Regions from separate parts of the Homo sapiens genome. Here all the other regions are linked to region 4. Evidence: promoter capture Hi-C in human tissues and cell types (Jung and others, 2019). All regions are on one chromosome and are shown on one strand. The core of a region is centred on a gene start or on the middle of the fragment in contact, and the rest is flanking DNA. Distances in the headings are between cores, read along the strand shown. Region 1 overlaps NSD2 (nuclear receptor binding SET domain protein 2). Region 2 overlaps RNF4 (ring finger protein 4). Region 3 holds the start of MIR4800 (microRNA 4800). Region 4 holds the start of MYL5 (myosin light chain 5). Region 5 overlaps LOC124900839. Region 6 holds the start of LETM1 (leucine zipper and EF-hand containing transmembrane protein 1).

Evidence for each region. The method cuts DNA at HindIII sites, captures the fragments that hold promoters and counts their contacts. A contact is called where the count stands out against the background at its distance.
Region 1: a contact is called between a fragment that was not itself captured here and the fragment with the promoter of MYL5 in region 4, in 1 of the 25 tissues and cell types used here (H1 embryonic stem cells).
Region 2: a contact is called between a fragment that was not itself captured here and the fragment with the promoter of MYL5 in region 4, in 1 of the 25 tissues and cell types used here (H1 embryonic stem cells).
Region 3: a fragment that was not itself captured here is called in contact with the fragment with the promoter of MYL5 in region 4 in 1 of the 25 tissues and cell types used here (psoas muscle).
Region 5: a fragment that was not itself captured here is called in contact with the fragment with the promoter of MYL5 in region 4 in 1 of the 25 tissues and cell types used here (lymphoblastoid cells).
Region 6: a contact is called between the fragment with the promoter of LETM1 here and the fragment with the promoter of MYL5 in region 4, in 1 of the 25 tissues and cell types used here (adrenal gland).

What each region holds. Positions count from the first base shown.
Region 1 is chr4:1,875,743-1,878,442 of GRCh38, reverse strand. The region is part of intron 1 of NSD2 (nuclear receptor binding SET domain protein 2); the gene reads right to left. Among named protein-coding and RNA genes, the nearest start is that of NSD2, 5.7 kb to the right of the region's middle. The HindIII fragment of the contact is 5,818 bases long and covers 1-2,700 here.
Region 2 is chr4:2,499,262-2,501,961 of GRCh38, reverse strand. It overlaps RNF4 (ring finger protein 4), which reads right to left. Exons shown (of 8, transcript NM_002938.5): 4 at 1,224-1,303. Among named protein-coding and RNA genes, the nearest start is that of RNF4, 32 kb to the right of the region's middle. The HindIII fragment of the contact is 8,662 bases long and covers 1-2,700 here.
Region 3 is chr4:2,248,691-2,251,429 of GRCh38, reverse strand. MXD4 (MAX dimerization protein 4) reads left to right here. Exons shown (of 6, transcript NM_006454.3): 5 at 184-346; 6 at 729-2,739. The coding sequence ends at 886. It overlaps MIR4800 (microRNA 4800), which reads left to right and starts at 1,274; the gene lies at 1,274-1,353. The HindIII fragment of the contact is 7,274 bases long and covers 1-2,739 here.
Region 4 is chr4:673,151-675,910 of GRCh38, reverse strand. MYL5 (myosin light chain 5) reads right to left here and starts at 1,369. Exons shown (of 9, transcript NM_002477.2): 1 at 1,228-1,369. ATP5ME (ATP synthase membrane subunit e) reads left to right here and starts at 1,635. Exons shown (of 4, transcript NM_007100.4): 1 at 1,635-1,699; 2 at 1,945-1,999; 3 at 2,510-2,608. The coding sequence starts at 1,664. RefSeq lists enhancers at 799-868, 746-1,503 and a silencer at 1,079-1,348. The HindIII fragment of the contact is 2,744 bases long and covers 1,096-2,760 here.
Region 5 is chr4:2,016,438-2,019,137 of GRCh38, reverse strand. LOC124900839 reads left to right here. Exons shown (of 4, transcript XM_047416543.1): 3 at 1,396-1,468. Among named protein-coding and RNA genes, the nearest start is that of NELFA, 8.8 kb to the right of the region's middle. The HindIII fragment of the contact is 5,535 bases long and covers 1-2,700 here.
Region 6 is chr4:1,854,812-1,857,557 of GRCh38, reverse strand. It overlaps LETM1 (leucine zipper and EF-hand containing transmembrane protein 1), which reads left to right and starts at 1,402. Exons shown (of 14, transcript NM_012318.3): 1 at 1,402-1,689. The coding sequence starts at 1,608. RefSeq lists enhancers at 1-316, 986-1,055, 1,693-2,194 and silencers at 586-805, 1,206-1,765, 1,776-1,965. The HindIII fragment of the contact is 14,961 bases long and covers 1-2,746 here.

The DNA of each region.
Region 1 (2,700 bases), core at 148-2,647, 1.2 Mb before region 4:
CAGATAGCAACAGAATAATTAAAAAAAGTTTTTTTGGCCAGGCATGGTGGCTTACGCCTGTAATCCGAACACTTTGGGAGGCCAAGACAGGCAGATCACTTGAGGTCAGGAGTTCGAGACCAGCCTGGCCAACATGGCCTAGTCTCTACTAAAAATACAAAAAAAAAAAAAAAAAAAAAAAAAAAAAAAAATATATATATATATATATATATATATCAGCCGGGCATGGTGGCACACACCCGTAATCCCAGCTACTTGGGAGGCTGAGGCAGGAGAACCGCTTGAACCCAGGAAGCAGAGGTTGTGGTGAGCCTAGATTGTGCCACTGCACTCCAGCCTGGGTGACAGAGTTAGACTCCGTCTCAGAAGTGTGTGTGTATATATATAATACTTTTTTTAAATTTTATTTTTCTTTTGGGACAGAGTCTTACTGCCACCCAGTCTGGAATGCAGTGGCATAATCGTGGTTCCCTGCAACCTCAAACTCCTGGGCTGGAGTGATCCTCTCGTCTTGGCTTCATAAAGCACCAGGATCACAGATAAACTGTAATAGTACCTGGTCACAACAGAGTACTTTAAATCAGTGGTCAGAGAAGGTGCCCGAGAGGGAGAAGCACAAAGACCTGAAGGAGGGTGAGGGGTAAGCCACACAGATACCTGGGGACAGCATTCCAGGTCAAAGAAGGAACAAGGGCACTAGTCGGAGGCAGCAGAGCTGCAGGGCTTCAGAGCAGGCAAGAGGCCCGTGTGGCTGGAACAGAATGAGAATGGGAGTGGGTGACGATGGAAAAGACAAGAGCCTCCCAAAACAGGCAGGAGTCAGGCACAGCATTCAGTGTGGGGCCCAAGCTGAGACCTGGCAGAAGGAAGGAAGAGGGAAAGCATGCCTATCCCCCAAACACATGGGGTAAGGGGGCACATGGGCAGAAGAAAGGAACAAAAATTGACCACACAAAGGCCCAGAGGAAAAACATGGCAGAAAGAGATGAGCTGAGTAACTGAGATGAGGGCAAAACAAGTAGTGCAGTGAGAGTCAGAAAGCCAGTGAGAGACTCGTCTTGAACCCCAATGGGCAGTGAGAGTCACCCCCTGAAGACTGGGGACACATAGGACATCTGTATTTTAGAAAGACAAGGCAGTGTGTAGAGAACTACCTGAAGACAGTAAAACCGGAGTCGGAAAAATGCTTTCTGATCATTAGCCTCCATAATATAGCAGCAAAAAATATATGAAAACCATCAAAATGTAAGAACATTGCTAACATGCACAGATCCTCTAAAAGCATAACAATTTTTTTTTTTTCCTTGAGACAGAATCTCGTCCTGTCGCCCAGGCTGGAGTGCAGTAGCATGATCTCGGCTCATTTCAACCTCTGCCTCCCAGGCTCAGGGAAGTCTCCTGCCTCAGCCTCCCGAGTAGCTGGGATTACAGGCACCCACCACCACGCCCAGCTAATTTTTTGTATTTTTAGTAGAGACGGGGTTTCACCACATTTCCCAGGCTGGTCTCGAACTCCTGACCTCAGGTGATCTGCCTGCCTTGGCCTCCCAAAGCACTGGGATTACAGGCGTGAGCCACCCACCGCACCAGCAAACGGCATAACAAATTTAATTCACATCATCAACTCTCTCAGTGCCAACTCAAGTCAACTTAAAAATTGAGGTTCCAATTCCTTCCAGAAAAAAAAAGCATTTTTTCTACACACCCACTAGGGTAGTCTCACTATTGGGGTTTTGTGTTTAGGTTTGTTTTTTGAGAGAGGGTTGTGCTATCTCCCAGGCTGGAGTGTGGTGGTATGATCACAGCTCACTGCAGCCTCAAAGTCCTGGACTCAGGTGACCTCCCACTTCAGCCACCCAAGTATCTGGGACTATAGGCACACACCACCAAGCCCAGCTAATTTTCAAAAATTTTTGTAGAGATGGGGTCTCCCTATGTTGCCCAAGCTGGTGTCAAACTCCTAGTCTCAAGTGATCCTCCCACCTCAGCCTCCCAAAGTGCTGCAATTACAGGCATGAGCAACTGTGCCTATCCACTACTGGAGTTTTTGAGCTGAGGCCATCACTCAGCTAACCAACACTGCAATTTCTATCCTTGTATATTTTGTTGAAACCACTAAGTATTACAGAAAGTAAAATGCTTTGAAAACTCATCTGGGGCCAGGTGGTTTTAGGAAAGCAGATACTAAAACAAAACTAATTTGAAATCTGTCTTGGTTTTTTTTTTTTGAGACAGGGGTCTTGCTCTGTCAACCAGGGTGGAGGGCAGTGGCGCGATCTCAGCTCACTGCAAGCTCCGCCTCCCAGGTTCACACCATTCTCCTGCCTCAGCCTCCCGAGTAGCTGGGACTACAGGCACTGCAACCATGCCCAGCTTATTTTTTATATTTTTAGTAGAGACAGGGTTTCACCATGTTAGCCAGGATGGTCTCAATCTCCTGACCTCATGATCCACCCGCCTCGGCCTCCCAAAGTGCTGGGATTACAAGCTTGAGCCACCGCACCCAGCCAAAATCTGTCTTGAATTCTTTTTTTTTGAGATGGAGTCTCGCTGTCTCCCAGGCTGGAGTGCAGTGGCGCAGTCTTGGCTCACTGCAAGCTCCGCCTCCTGGGTTAACGCCATTCTCCTGCCTCAGCCTCCCGAGTAGCTGGGACTACAGGCGTCCACCACCATGCCCAGCTAATTTTTTGTATTTTTTTT
Region 2 (2,700 bases), core at 46-2,545, 1.8 Mb before region 4:
CCACTGCTGCTTATCTCAGATGGTTTTCCATCCCTGTCCTTTTCTTTGCATTGAAGTCTTGAAACTTCTCAGTATAACCCTATTCTGAAGTTCTCAGCACAACTAAGAAGCAACACCTATGGGGTGTCCCTATTCAGATACCCAGGCATCAGCCAAACAGGATAACCCCAACACCAGTGAGCCCAGGGCCAAGGCGAAGACTCAGCTACTAGCAGCCCCCACACCCCACAGTCCTCCTCAGCAGCACTTACCACCCCACTGCCAATGCTGCCAAGTGTGCCCCCACCCCGACCTGTGTTCCGAGCACACTGTCAGAAAACACTCAAGTGGCATCTTCCAGAGGCAAACTTGCCCTTAAGATGCTGACCAGATTCCCAGACCTGCATGCACCATGAAACAGGTCTATCAGAAATAGCTTCTCCGTGTGTCCTCTGACCAGACAAGGCCTCCCTCCTGGCAGGCAGGACACGTATACACACGTCCCCTGCAGTCTGTAACCGGTGCCATGAGACAGGGACACAGGCAGCCTCCTGGGCTCCAGCCTCCCTGGCATCAGGACGCAGCAGGCATCAGGTGGCAATGCAGGGAGCCTGCATCCCCTGAGGCCATGCTAAGTAGCAGGCACTTTTGGAACTTGAGAGATTTCCCATGGGCAGTGCTGAGCCAACGTTCCCTTTCCTTTCAGTTGGGAGGGCATACACTCACAGTGACTGGGCACCATTCTAGGTGTCAGGCACTCAAACACGGCATCTGTTGTAAGATGTCTTACACCATGCCCTGCTGACATGAGTGACCTGTCCCCATTTCATGGAAAGTGAATGAGGCTAAGTCACATGCCCAAGGTCACACAGCTGGTGTAAACTGTGGAATCAGGGACTGAAGACAGATGTGGGGGTCTTGAGATTCTCCCCAAACCACTTTTGTGCCCAGGTGTGGCAAGGTCAGGTTACACAGACCTACTCCATAGGCGACAAGGCTATAACAAATGATTTTCCAGAAACATTTTTCATTTTGGGCTCTCGTCACTGAATGCATGAACTTCTTTGTTATTATTATTGTTACTGTTTATTTTCTTTCTAAAAGCTCAATTCCACAAGATGCATGAACTTCTTTAGCATAAGCTGTAACCTTGACTTGGAGTCTGTGACCAAGGCTGTCAGATGCTGGCACTGGCCAGGGACCCATACCCAAGAAACAGCCGACTCTCACACTCCAACACTTACCACAACAGAGTCATTGTGAGTCAGATCAACCACCACAGGCTCTAAAGATTCACAAGTGAGGTCCACAATTTCATCTCCAGCTTCAAAAGAAAGTATTTCAACAAGCATTAAGATTAAGAGGAAAGTAAGGTTGTATCCCTCTACACTTTAGTATGACTGCTAATGTTATAGGCTTACCCCAAACTAAAACAATCCTGAAGTATACACTGCAAAGAGCACCAGGACCAACACCTCCCTCAGGAGGGAAAGCCAGTAACCACCCTTCCAGAATTCTGCTCTGAGTGGGGAGGTATGGTTTTTACAAATGTACCTGGGGGGTTATGTATGTGTGCGCATGTGCATACCTCTATTCCACGGCATCCCACTTCCACACGGCTATGCCTCTGTGCCCCATCTGGGAGAACGCACCATGCATGCCCAGCCCCAGGCCTTTCTCTTTGGGATGGACTAGCCTGAAACCTCTGCTCCTCCCAGCAGGTGAAGCTGACCACTCTCACTTGGCCCAAGGACCAAAAGTCAGGCTTAGCTTAGTAACTTCATCGGTTAATCTAGGGCAAATTCTTTTTTTTTTTTTTTTTTTTTGAGACAGAGTCTCGCTCTGTCGCCAAGGCTGGAGTGCAGTGGTGCGATCTTGGCTCACTGCAACCTCCGCCTCCTGGGTTCAAGCAATTCTCTGTCTCAGCCTCCCGAGTAGTTGGGATTACAGGCGCCTGGCAGCATGCCTGGCTAATTTTGTTTGTATTTTTAGTAGAGATGGGGTTTCACCATCTTGGCCAGGCTGGTCTTGAACTCCTGACCTTGTGATCCACCCACTTCAGTCTTCCAAAGTGTTGGGATTACAGGCGTGAGCCACCGTGCCCGGCCAAGGACAAACTTTTAATTTCCATTTATCTCTCAAGTTTGTCTCCCTAGTTGGATGGAGAATAACAGTGATATATACTGATAGCTAGAACCTCAACATACAAAATGGGTTGCATCTGTTGTGAAGCTTGCCTTTCAGCCCTTAGGGTATACTGTGATGTCTACATGTGCACAGGATAAAGGTGAGAAGGACATGGACCAAACAGTTAACGTACAACTTCCATTTATATAAAGTAAAAAATGACGCACAACCATTTTTATTTCTGATTACTATTAATATTAATATTAAAAAGCACGGAATGGGCCAGGCACAGTGGTTCACACCTGTAATCCCAGCACTTTGGGAGGCTGAGGTGGGCGGATCACCTGAGGTTGAGAGTTCGAGACCAGCCTGACCAACATGGAGAAACTCCGTTTCTACTAAAAATACAAAATTAGCGAGGTGTGGTGGCACATGCCTGTAATCCCAGCTACTCGGGAGGCTGAGGCAGGAGAATTGCTTGAACCCCGGGATGCAAAGATCACGCCACTGCACCCCAGCCTGGGCAACAAGAGCAAAACTCCATCTCAAAAACAAACAAACAACAACAACAACAAAACACTAAATGAAGTTTTT
Region 3 (2,739 bases), core at 1-2,500, 1.6 Mb before region 4:
GGAGGGACCCACCTCAGGCTGTGGGGCTGGCAGAGACTGGGCACCCTGTGGCCTGTAGCCTTGGCTAGGTCTTGGCAGGGATGGGGAACCTCCCGGGCCCAGGCCTGGGTGCCCCAGTGCCTGGCCAGGGGGATGGGGGGACTCCTCTTCCCGCTGTGAGCTCACAGCCCCCCTCGACCCCAGAAACTGGAGGAGCAGGACCGCCGGGCACTGAGCATCAAGGAGCAGCTGCAGCAGGAGCATCGTTTCCTGAAGCGGCGCCTGGAGCAGCTGTCGGTGCAGAGCGTGGAGCGCGTGCGCACAGATAGCACGGGCTCTGCTGTCTCCACGGACGACTCAGAGCAAGGTGGGGCGTGGGGCGCGGGGCAGCCTCACCTGGGCCTCCGGGTGCGCAGTGGTGCAGCTCCCTGGGTGGAGAGGAGGTGCCTGGTGCTGGGGCTGGGGAGAACCCTCCCAGCTCCCTGCTGCACTGGGGTGTGTGTTTGTCACTAAGCGCAGAAGGGACTGGACAGGGAGGGTGGGATGCAGAGGCTGTGTGGCCCGCTGAGGACTGGTGCTTCTGAGGCCGGGTTCTCAGCCAGAGCCCTCCTGGCGTCTGCTGCCCCAGGGCCCAGACAGCGCCCTCCGCACTTCTGCCCCTCTGCCTAGAGCTTCTGCTTCCAGAAAAGGGAGAAATGGGCTGGCACCCTCAGAGTGGCCTGACCCCATCCCCACTCTATTCTCCCTAGAAGTGGACATAGAGGGCATGGAGTTTGGCCCTGGTGAGCTGGACAGTGTTGGCAGCAGCAGTGACGCGGACGACCACTACAGCCTGCAGAGTGGCACCGGCGGCGACAGTGGCTTCGGGCCCCACTGCCGGCGGCTGGGCCGCCCCGCCCTCTCGTAGGCCCGTGCCCTCTGCTCCTTGGCCTGCCTGCCCGCCAGCCACGCGTGTCAGCCCTCCAGTTCTCCTTCAGTTGACGCCAGCCTCTCCACAGGCCCACTGCTGTGCCATTCTGGAAGCTCCAGCTGCTGCTGGGCTGCCTGGCACTGCCCGCTTGCCGGTCAGGGCCTGCCGAGCTGCCTGCCCCTTCCAGCTGGGCAGAGTCCCCTGCAAGGAGGCAGGGCCCAGCTTCCACATCCGGAGCCCTGGTCAGCATAGCCGCCCACGGTCTGTTCTCAGATTCCTAATCATTCCAGAAGTATTAAACGTCATTGCTGCAAACCTCGGCAGGTGCCGTGTGAGGGGCTTAATGACCACCACAGGGAGCTCAGACCCCAACCCTGGATCCCAGGAGAAAGGAGTGGACCGAGGAAGGAAGGAAGGCAAGGCTGTCTGTCCATCCGTCCGTCTGTCCACCTACCTGTCAGTCCACATAGGCTCCTGGCGTGGACAAGGGGTCTGTGAAGGGCGGGAACTGGGTGAGCACCTGGGGCAGGTGGGTGGTTAAGGTCCTTCCCACTTCGCAGGTGTCAGAACCTAGGGCTGGGCTCTCGGGGCCAGGCAGGCCAGCCCAGCCCACGCCGAGCTGGGCAGCGTCTGCTCTGGTAGGACTGTCAGACGCACACGCGCACGCACCTAGACACACCCACTCATGTACATGCTCACACATGCAGACACACCTGGGCGTCCCGAGGTCACATGTTCTGGGGATGATGGCCTTCAGGGGTCATCTGGCAAACAGCCCCTGGGCTGTGCCTGGATCCCCCTCTAGCTCCTGCTCACCCACGCCCACCCAGTAGTCCTGCCTGTCTGCACAGGAGAGGGGCTTCTCTTCCTGGCTGGGGCTGGGGTGAACTGGAGGCTGGTTAAGTTGCAGCCGCTGGGTCCTCGGGGGCTTACTCATCTCCCTTTTTTAAACAAAAAGCAAAAAAGTAAAATGCTGCACTGCCCAGCAGCCCGGTTAGGGCTCCTGGAGCCACCTTAGGAAAGGGCTTCTCATGAGCTCTGCTGCGGCAGCTTCAGCTGGCAGAGAGGCTTTCCCAGAAAAAAAAAAAAAACCATTTTTAAAAAGAAGAAAGCCTAAAGACTCTCGGCCTAGGGACGTCCGTGTGTGCCGCCTCTGTTTCCTGTACCAGATTTTTGTATTCTATTTTCCTAGCTGTTGTTGCGTCCTTGTTTGCTGAGGGGTGGGAGCCACCCAGCGTCTCAGGGACCTGTCCCTCCGTCACGTCGTCAAAGTGTGCCTTGTGTCTTGTGTCAGGCCTTGCCCTTCCCACCAGCATGTCCCTCGTGGCTCAGGGTGCCCCAGGCCTGCCCAGCTAGTGCTGTCCTCCCATCTCCTGTGGGCAGCCCCTCCCGGCAGCCAGGGCTTCCTGGAGGCGATGCAGCCAGGCCCCTGTGGGTGGCACGGAGGGGCTGTGACCTGGTCCCCAGTGTTGCCCTCCCCAGTGGCTGGCAGGGGCCTGCTTGCTCACTAGAGAGATGGATTCTCACCTGTCACCTGACTCGAGCCCCCTGCTTCCTGGCCTAGGCGAGGGTTCCAGGTTTCAGACACTGGCAGCCAATGAAGACTGTGCTCGCTGGGTGGTGCAGGCCTGGCACCAGGAGGCTTGCACCCGCCTTTCCTTCCTGACGTCCTCTGTCCTTGGGGCTGGCCCATAGCAGTGCCTGCCGTGCCTCTGGTACATCTGTAGCCAATTCCCATATCATGGGGAAAATTCGTGTCTATTTTCAGTCGTACGCATAGACGCCCCAGGATGGGGGGCCCACTGTGGCGGAAGGGGGTCCCTGGAAACAACTCTGGCACAGAACCTGCC
Region 4 (2,760 bases), core at 120-2,619:
GGAAGGTTTCGGGATGAAACTATTCCACCTCAGTTCATCAGGCATTAGATTCTCACCAGAGCGCAATCCAGATCCAAGTGCGCAGCTCACAGTAGGGTTCACGCTCCTATGGGAATCTGATGCCCAGGCTGATCTGAAAGTGGGTGGAGCTCGGGCAATCATGCTCCCTCACCTCGTCCTGTGCTGCCCGGTTCCTAACGGGCCACAAGCTGGTACTGGTCTGCACCTGGGGGTTGGGGACCCCTGCCCTATAGGACTGGCCTTGGTATACCCAGCTCAGGAAACAGAGCCCAGTGACTTCCTAGTTTCTCAGCCAGAGAGGCCCAGGCCCTGGACCCCAGAGCAAGCCAGGAGAGGGGGCAGAGGCGACTTAGGCCCGGACAGGTAGCCCAGGCCGCCAGGATCACGGGTCCTCCCCATGCTTGCTTCAAGAGTCCTGGAGTTTGTGATGCTGCACCTTAGCGAGACCCGAGCCATAGTTCTCCAGTTGCTTCTGCCTGTAGCAGTGCAGGGCCAGGAGGGGACACAGGAGGCCTTGCGTCACTACTGCATGGGGCCAAAGGGGGCCCGAGGGTGGCCCAGCACGGGCAGCATGGCTGCCGCCAGGAAGACCCAGAACGTGGAGGGGGTGCCAGGCTCCTGCCTAGACTCCAAGCCTGGTGTCCATGGGGCTGGCGGGTCAGCACTTCGGGCACAGCGGGGAGGCTGCATAGGCACCGCAGGCCCCATCTCTGGGCAGCTGTGGGAGACACACAGCTACCGGGAGGTGGACAGAGGCCAGCAAAGACCAGTGTGGGGCTCAGTGGTCCCCAGGCCTGGGCCGGGGCAGGCCCTTGGAGCCGTGGAGTCCTGAGGCCTGGAGTCGGGGGACCCAGGGAGCAGCCTCTGTTGGGGGCTGGTCTTCCCAAGAAGATCCCAGCCCCTCTTCGGGACAGAAGTGATGGGGCATCCTGGGGTGAGGAAGCTCCAGCTCCGGGATGAAGGGCGCCCCGTGCTCCCGGGCAGAGCAGCCGCAGGAAGAGGGGCCTGGAGGCCATGCTCCCGCGGGCCGCGGAATCCAACGCGGCCCGGCCGGCGACAGACACTACTGCCTTGTAGGAGAAGGACCTGCCCGGGGAGCCACCTGCACTCGGCTCACACTCCGCTCCCAGGACCCCCAGGTCCCTGCCCAGGCCACCCTCGGGTGGGCGCGGTCCGCGGGGCTGGACCCGCCCGAGCCGCCCTGACCTCAGGCCTCCGACGCTCCGCGCAAGAAGACAGAGTGCGCCCCGGCCCGCAGTCTGGGGTGTGGACACACGGCCAGGACGCGGACGGCGGGGCCTCGGCAGCAGCGCGGGGAAACAGCGGACCCCCAGCCCTGCGGGGAAAGGAAACCCCCCGCCCACTCGGCGCAGATCCCGCCTCACGCAGCAACTGCGCAGGCGCAGCCGATGATCCTCCGCGCACTCCCCAGCCTTTGTGCGCGTGCGCCTCACGTGACGTCACCGCCGCGCGGGGGCGCGCAGTCACCCTTCGGTCGCCAGGGGGCGCGGCCCCCCGCTCTCTCGCCGCTGACGGCGCATGCGTGCGCCCAGCTCCGCCTTTGCCTCCAAGGCTTTGCTGGCTTGTGCGGCATCCTGCTCCGTCTGCAGGTTGTGCTTCCGGTGCGGAGGTCAGGGACAAGATGGTGCCACCGGTGCAGGTCTCTCCGCTCATCAAGGTGATCCAGGCTTTGCAGCCGCCGCCCAGTGCTCTGGGCCCCCCCGTGTCCCGCCCCGCAGCTCCGACCCCGCGGGCTGCGACCCCCGGCCCCCGCCCCCATGATCCTCGCCCCGTGACCCTCGCCCGGCGACCGGACCCCCACCCCTCCTGCGACCTCTGCCCAGCGACCCCGCCCCCCCTCCTCCCGCGACCCCCGTCCCGCGAGCCCCGTTTCGCGCCGCCTCTGACCAACCTCTTTCGCAGCTCGGCCGCTACTCCGCCCTGTTCCTCGGTGTGGCCTACGGAGCCACGCGCTACAGTGAGTGACCGCGGGCGGGGCCGGGGCGGGGTCTGCTCGGCTTTCCTGTGGAGCTCCTGTGCTATTTGGAGAACTCCAGCTCTGGAAGGGGGCTTGGGACGCATGCGAGGCTGCAGGACCGTGTCCTCCACCGAGCGTGACCCCGATAGTGGAATCAGCTCACCCAAAGCTCAGGCTTCTGAGGCCCGGGCGGGGGACTCGAAAACGGCTGCTTCTTGGTGAAAACGGGTGCTAAATGGCTGTTCGAGTGCTGAGGTCTTGATGGGAGGCAGTCCCTGTTCGCAGAGGACGAGTGAGCCAGTGCGTGAGCGGGTGGGCAGCAGGGGCCCTGTAGCCTCTGGGTTGGACTCGTCAGGGTGAAGGTCAGGCGTTGACTCGCATTAACATAAAGAGCGGGAACAGCAGGTGCGTCTGGTTTACAGCGTCGCTGAAGATACCTTGACCTGTGGACTCAGTTCCTTTTGTACAGCATTTCCAGTGAATTTTATTCTCCTGCATTCCGCCAAACAGATTACCTAAAACCTCGGGCAGAAGAGGAGAGGAGGATAGCAGCAGAAGAGAAGAAGAAGCAGGATGAACTGAAACGGATTGCCAGAGAATTGGCAGAAGGTACGAGTGACACTGGCTCTTATAGATTGTCCCTCCCAGGTTTGTGCAGGGATAAGGAAAATGGAGGAGGACATTTAAGCAGAGCTAAGTAGATGCGGATTGTTTAAAAATGGGGAAGCTGGCCAGGCGTGGTGGCTCATGCCTGTATCCCA
Region 5 (2,700 bases), core at 139-2,638, 1.3 Mb before region 4:
TCACGAGATCTGAACTCACTGGCCCTTGGTGCCCTTGAGACAGGGACATTCAGACCTGTGTTAGTTCATCCTCTTCCCAAGGAGCTCTTCACAACAGAAGGTGACAAGGACAGACGGACACACAGAATTGTTGTTAGGAGCAAAGTAGTTTCCACAAGGATCAAAATCTTCATCTCATCAGATAATCAAAGCACACGTAAGAAGGCTTTCTCAATCCTGGAACACAAGGAGCTTTCACAAAAGAAAACCAGAGGGTCACGGGGAGAGTGCTGGTTCCAGTCGCAGGTCTCAGGCCATCCTGGGGAGGCCGTCTCAGCCGAATCCCATGGGAACATTTAGGACCATTCACTGCCAACAACTCAACAGTGACTCCCAGAAAACTTGTTTATTTTTAGAGACAGGGTCTTGCTCTGTTGCCCGGGCTAGATTGCAGTGGTGCAACCACAGCTCACTGCAGCCTCAACCTCCTGGGCTCAAGCAATCCTCCCCCATCAACCTCCCAAGTAGCTGGGACTACAGGTGTGCTCCACCACACCCGGCTAATTTTTTAGTGTTTTGTAGAGACAGAGTCTTGCTGTGTTGCCAAGGCTGGTCTCTAACTCCTGGGCTCACGCAATCCTCCCACCTCAGCCTCCCAAAGTGCGCCTGGCCTCATAGGATTTTAGAATCTGGGCTCAGATGGTTGATGGTCTGTCTTTCAGTGCAAGGACTCATTGGGATAGGACAGAGCTTATGGCCCAACAGTGCAGGACAGAGAAACACAGCCAGATGAAGGTTCTGATGAGTGAGCTGGTTCCCAGATTGGTAAACTATGTGCCAGGATACATTGTTCTGCAAGATTTTCCTGAAGCAAACAGTGATTGACTGATTTAGTTTTATCTTCCTGGAAAGAATTTTCTGGAAATAATCATTAAATCAGGTTGACACAGGTGATCTCAGCTCTTGATCCCAAGAGTTAAGTGGACACAGGTGGTCTCAATTCTCATCCCGTCCTCAATATTCTGCCAAGGCCCCTCTGTCTTTTCCATCTCTTTTTTTTTTTCATTTTCTTTCTTTCTTTTTTTTTTTTTTTTTTTGAGACGGAGTCTCACGCTTGGTGCCCAGGCTGGAGTGCAATGGCACGATCTCAGCTCACGGCAACCTCCACCTCCCAGGTTCAAGCGATTCTCCTGCCTCAGCCTCCTGTGTAGCTGGGATTACAGGCATGAGCCACCACGCCCAGTTAATTTTTGTATTTTTAGTAGAGACAGGGTTTCACCATGTTGGCCAGGATGGTCTTGATCTCTTGACCTCATGATCCACCTGCCTCGGCCTCCCAAAGTGCTGGGATTACAGGCATGAGCCACTGTGCCCAGCCTTCCACCTCATTTTCTCTGTCATCATTTTTTTCTCCAGCTTCCAGGAGCCGTCGTAGCAGCCGATTAGGACTGGCTGCTGGTGTGGTGATGACCTAGAGGGCTTCTCCCAGGTAAGGTGAGAAGAGGGATCCACTCACTGCAAGAGGCTGCATAAACTTAACCCAACACTGTAAAGGCTCTCCTCATGAACAAAGCATTAGTAGTCTAGATAAAATACTAACAAGCGAAATCTAGCAACGTGTAAAAAAGAATAACATAGTCCAAGTTGGGCTTATTCTAGGAAAGTAAGGTTTATGTAATTTGAAAGGCAATCAATGTAATTCATCACATTTACAAAATAAAGGTGAAAAAATCATACAATCATCTCAGTATGCACAACAAAACATTTTATAAGAACATTTGATAAAATTAAATGTTGGTCATGATTTTTAAAAACCTGTAGCAAATTAGGAATAGAAGGGAACTTCTTTAATTTGATCTAGGGCACCTTAAAAAATAAGCAAACATGGCCGGGCATGGTGGCTCACACCTGTAATCCCAGCACTTTGGGAGGCTGAGGCGGGCGGATCACGAGGTGAGGAGATCGAGACCATGCTGGCTAACACGGTGAAACCCCATCTCTAATAAAAATACAAAAAATTAGCCGGGCGTGGTGGCGGGCGACTTGTAGTCCCAGATACTCAGGAGGCTGAGGCAGGAGAACGGCCAGAACCCGGGAGGCGGAGCTTGCAGTGAGCCAAGATCACACTACTGCACTCCAGCCTGGGCGACAGAGTGAGAATCCGTCTCAAAAAAATAAGAATAAAAATAAGCAAACATATCACTTAATGGACTCATGTAACAGTGAAAAGTATGGCGGGATAGCTAACAGGCCAACCCTCCCACTGATTAAAGGCTTTGGAGCATAAACCAAAGCAAGCGGATTTTGGAGGGAAGTAAAAACTTGGAGGAAAGGACCAGCCTGGTGAATTTGTTTGTTTGTTTGAGACAAAGTCTTGCTCTGTTGCCCAGGCTGGAGTGCAATGGTGTGATCTCAGCTCACTGCGACCTCTGCCTCCCGGATTCAAGCAATGCTCCTGCCTCAGCCTCCTGAGTAGCTGGGATTACAGGTGCCCACCACTGTGCCCGGCTAATTTTTGTATTTTTAGTAGAGATGGGGTTTTGCCATGTTGGCCAGGCTGGTTTTGAACTCCTGACCTCAGGTGATCCACCTGCCTCGGCCTTCCAAAGTGTTGGGATCACAGGCATGAGCCACCACAGCTGACTGATCCTGGTGAGTTTTAAGGCCATTTTCAAAGCTTAAGCCTGAGGACAGCTAGGGAGCCCCGGCATGGTGCAAGCA
Region 6 (2,746 bases), core at 153-2,652, 1.2 Mb before region 4:
GGGGAGCTGGCTGGCATCAGGCGTTTCACACCCCATGCGCTCCAGGGAACAGAGATGCTGAGTGTGCACTACAAGACCCTCCCCAGGCGGTGCCCTGAGGTGCCGCGGAGAAGCAGGAGGAGGCAGGTTACATCCCTGAACAAGACAGAGGGCAGGGCAAGTGCTGTGCTGGGGATCTCCTAGCTGGAGATCTCCACCAGCTGGGCCCCCAGCGCCGCAGGTCCCCATTTTTCTCCCTGCCTGCTTTCTCTGCCCCAACTCAGGGATCCTCATCTTAGGGAAGGAAGGGGAAGGTGGAGCTCAGAGGTCACGGTCTGCTGGGAGGCTGCACGGTCTCTCTCCCCTGGACTGGTCAGGGCCGGCTATTAAACTGGGCTGGGGGGAGGCTCCTGGGAGACGGCGCATGAGCGGTCCGCGAGCCCAGCCCAGCTCTGGCGGGAATTCTGGAGACTTCGAGCCAGGTCCTTGGCGTCCTGGGCTTCGGCTGTTCCTTCTTGGACTGGGAAGTGGAGCGGACAGGGTATGGCCCAGGTTAGGAAGTCTGGCGCTCTTGCGGCGCGCGGGACCCCAGGGGCTGCTTAGGCCAGAGCGAAACGAGGGGTCCCCCCGCGCCAACGCAGGACCCATATCTACCCCTCCCGCTCAGACGGGAGGACGCGGTGTGCCGGGATGGGGGGCCGCTATGCTGGCTGCGCCGCCACCCGGCCTAGTGCCCTCGCCTCCAGGGGCCGGCATGGCCCTGTCCTTCGGGGCGGGACCCTGCGCTCCCGTCCCCCCAGTGGTGACGGGGACTCCCGACGCCGAGCAGCGCCGTATCTGGGGAGCGCCGCCCGGTACGCAGGGAAGAGGCACTCAGAGCTGCGCGCGCCAGAGTGCAGACCGCCGAGGGCAGAGCCACAGAGCAGGGGGGCCGGCGAGGGACCGCGGCCGAGGGCGTCGAGGGCGCCCCTCCATCCCCAGCGTCCCCTGACTTGCCCTTGGAGCCCCAAGCTCCCAGGAGCCGTTTTCTACTCGTGGGTGCAGGACTTAGTCCCAGAAAAGTTCCGGACACACGCGCTGCTGCCGCCGCCCGGAGACGAAAAGACACTCCCCGCGCAAGCGCGGCCGACTCCCTCAGCTCCTGCGGCCGCCACGCTGCGAGCCCCGGCGTCCACGGTACGACGGGAACCAGGATGCAGCGAGCCCCAGGAGCCAGCCGCCCCGGTGCACGCCGGGACCGGTAGTCCGCGCCTCAGGGTAGTCCGCCGCTCCGGTGCACGCCGGGATCGGTAGTCCGCACCCCAGCGTGCAGGCCGTCCCGGTGCACGCCGGAACCGGTAGTCCGCGGTGGCGCGGTCCGCCCCTCACCTGGCCAGCGGCGGGCGCTGAGGGGCCCAATGGGAGCCGCGGCCTGGCCGCCCCGCCCCGCGCCTCCGGACGTCTGTGCCGGGACAAGGCCGCCGCTGGTGCCGGGTCCTTGAGGAGAGCGCCTCCCGTCCGAGGCCAGCCGCCTCTGTCAGCCGTCCGCGCGGGCCGGGTCTGAAGCGCCGCCGGGACGGCGAAGAGCCGCGGCCGCCGCGGAGAAGGAGGCAGCGCAGGAGGCCGGAGCGGCCGCCGCGCCCGAGCACATGGCGTCCATCTTACTGAGGAGCTGCCGCGGCCGGGCGCCCGCCCGCCTCCCGCCGCCGCCTCGGTACACCGTCCCGCGGGGTAAGCGGCGGGCACCCCAGGGCGGGGCCGGCTCCCGGCTGGTGGGTCGGGAGCGCGGACGACCCGCGGGTTCGGGCTGGTTGTCACGGCGATGCGGGGAGCCCGGTGGTCCCGGCCTCCGGAGCCCCTGCGGGACCGTGGGGCCCCGGGTCTCGTCGCGGGCTGGGCCGCCAGCGCCGGGCGGAGCCGCTGGGCCTCTGCCGTGTGTTGTGACCTTAGGCGGCCGGGTCCCCCGGGTCACTGCCTCAGAGACAGTGGGAAAATTCTGAAGGGCTGGGCAGCCCTGGCGCGCCCTGCGCGAGTAAGCTTGGTGGAACGTGTCCACGCACGAGGACGGCCGTGCCCTTTGGTCACGTTTGGGGTCCCGGAGACGAGACTGGGTGGGCAGGGCAGACACCGGCGAGCAGGACCTGCTGGGCTGCAGGAGCCTTCCTGGTCCGTCACTGATGAGGTGATGCCAGCACCTACAAACCCCTGTGGTGTGATTAGGCCGCGACCGGCACCCGGGGAACACGGGGACTCCGGAGCCGCTGAGGGTCCTCAGGGTGCGTGGCTTTAGCCCCCCTAGCCTCAGGTGCTGTCTGGAGTGAATGCTGTCCCAGGGTGTGCCCACCTCCTCTCTCTCTCTAATTAACCAACTTATTTGAGTCTATGTCCTTATTTGTAAAATTGGAATAAACATAAAACTTGCTAAGAGGGACTCAAGTAAAATAATTAGTGCAGTGGTGCGATCATACTCACTGCACCTCAAACTCCTGGGCTCAAGCTATCCTTCTGCCTCAGCCTCCCAAGTTGTTAGTTGTGCCACACAACACCCAGCTAATTTTTTTTTTTGTAGTTTTTTTGTAGAGACAGGGTCTTGGTATGTTGCCCAGCCTGGTCTTGAACTCCAAGGCTCAACTGATCCTCCTGCTTTGGCCTCCCAAAGTGCTGGGATTACAGGAGCCACCATGCCCAGGCACCCAGCTTCAATATTCTTGTCTCTGTTCCCCACCCCCAAAGAGATAGATTGAAGTTGCCCTGAATGTATCCTCCCAATTCTTGTTTTTTTTTGTTT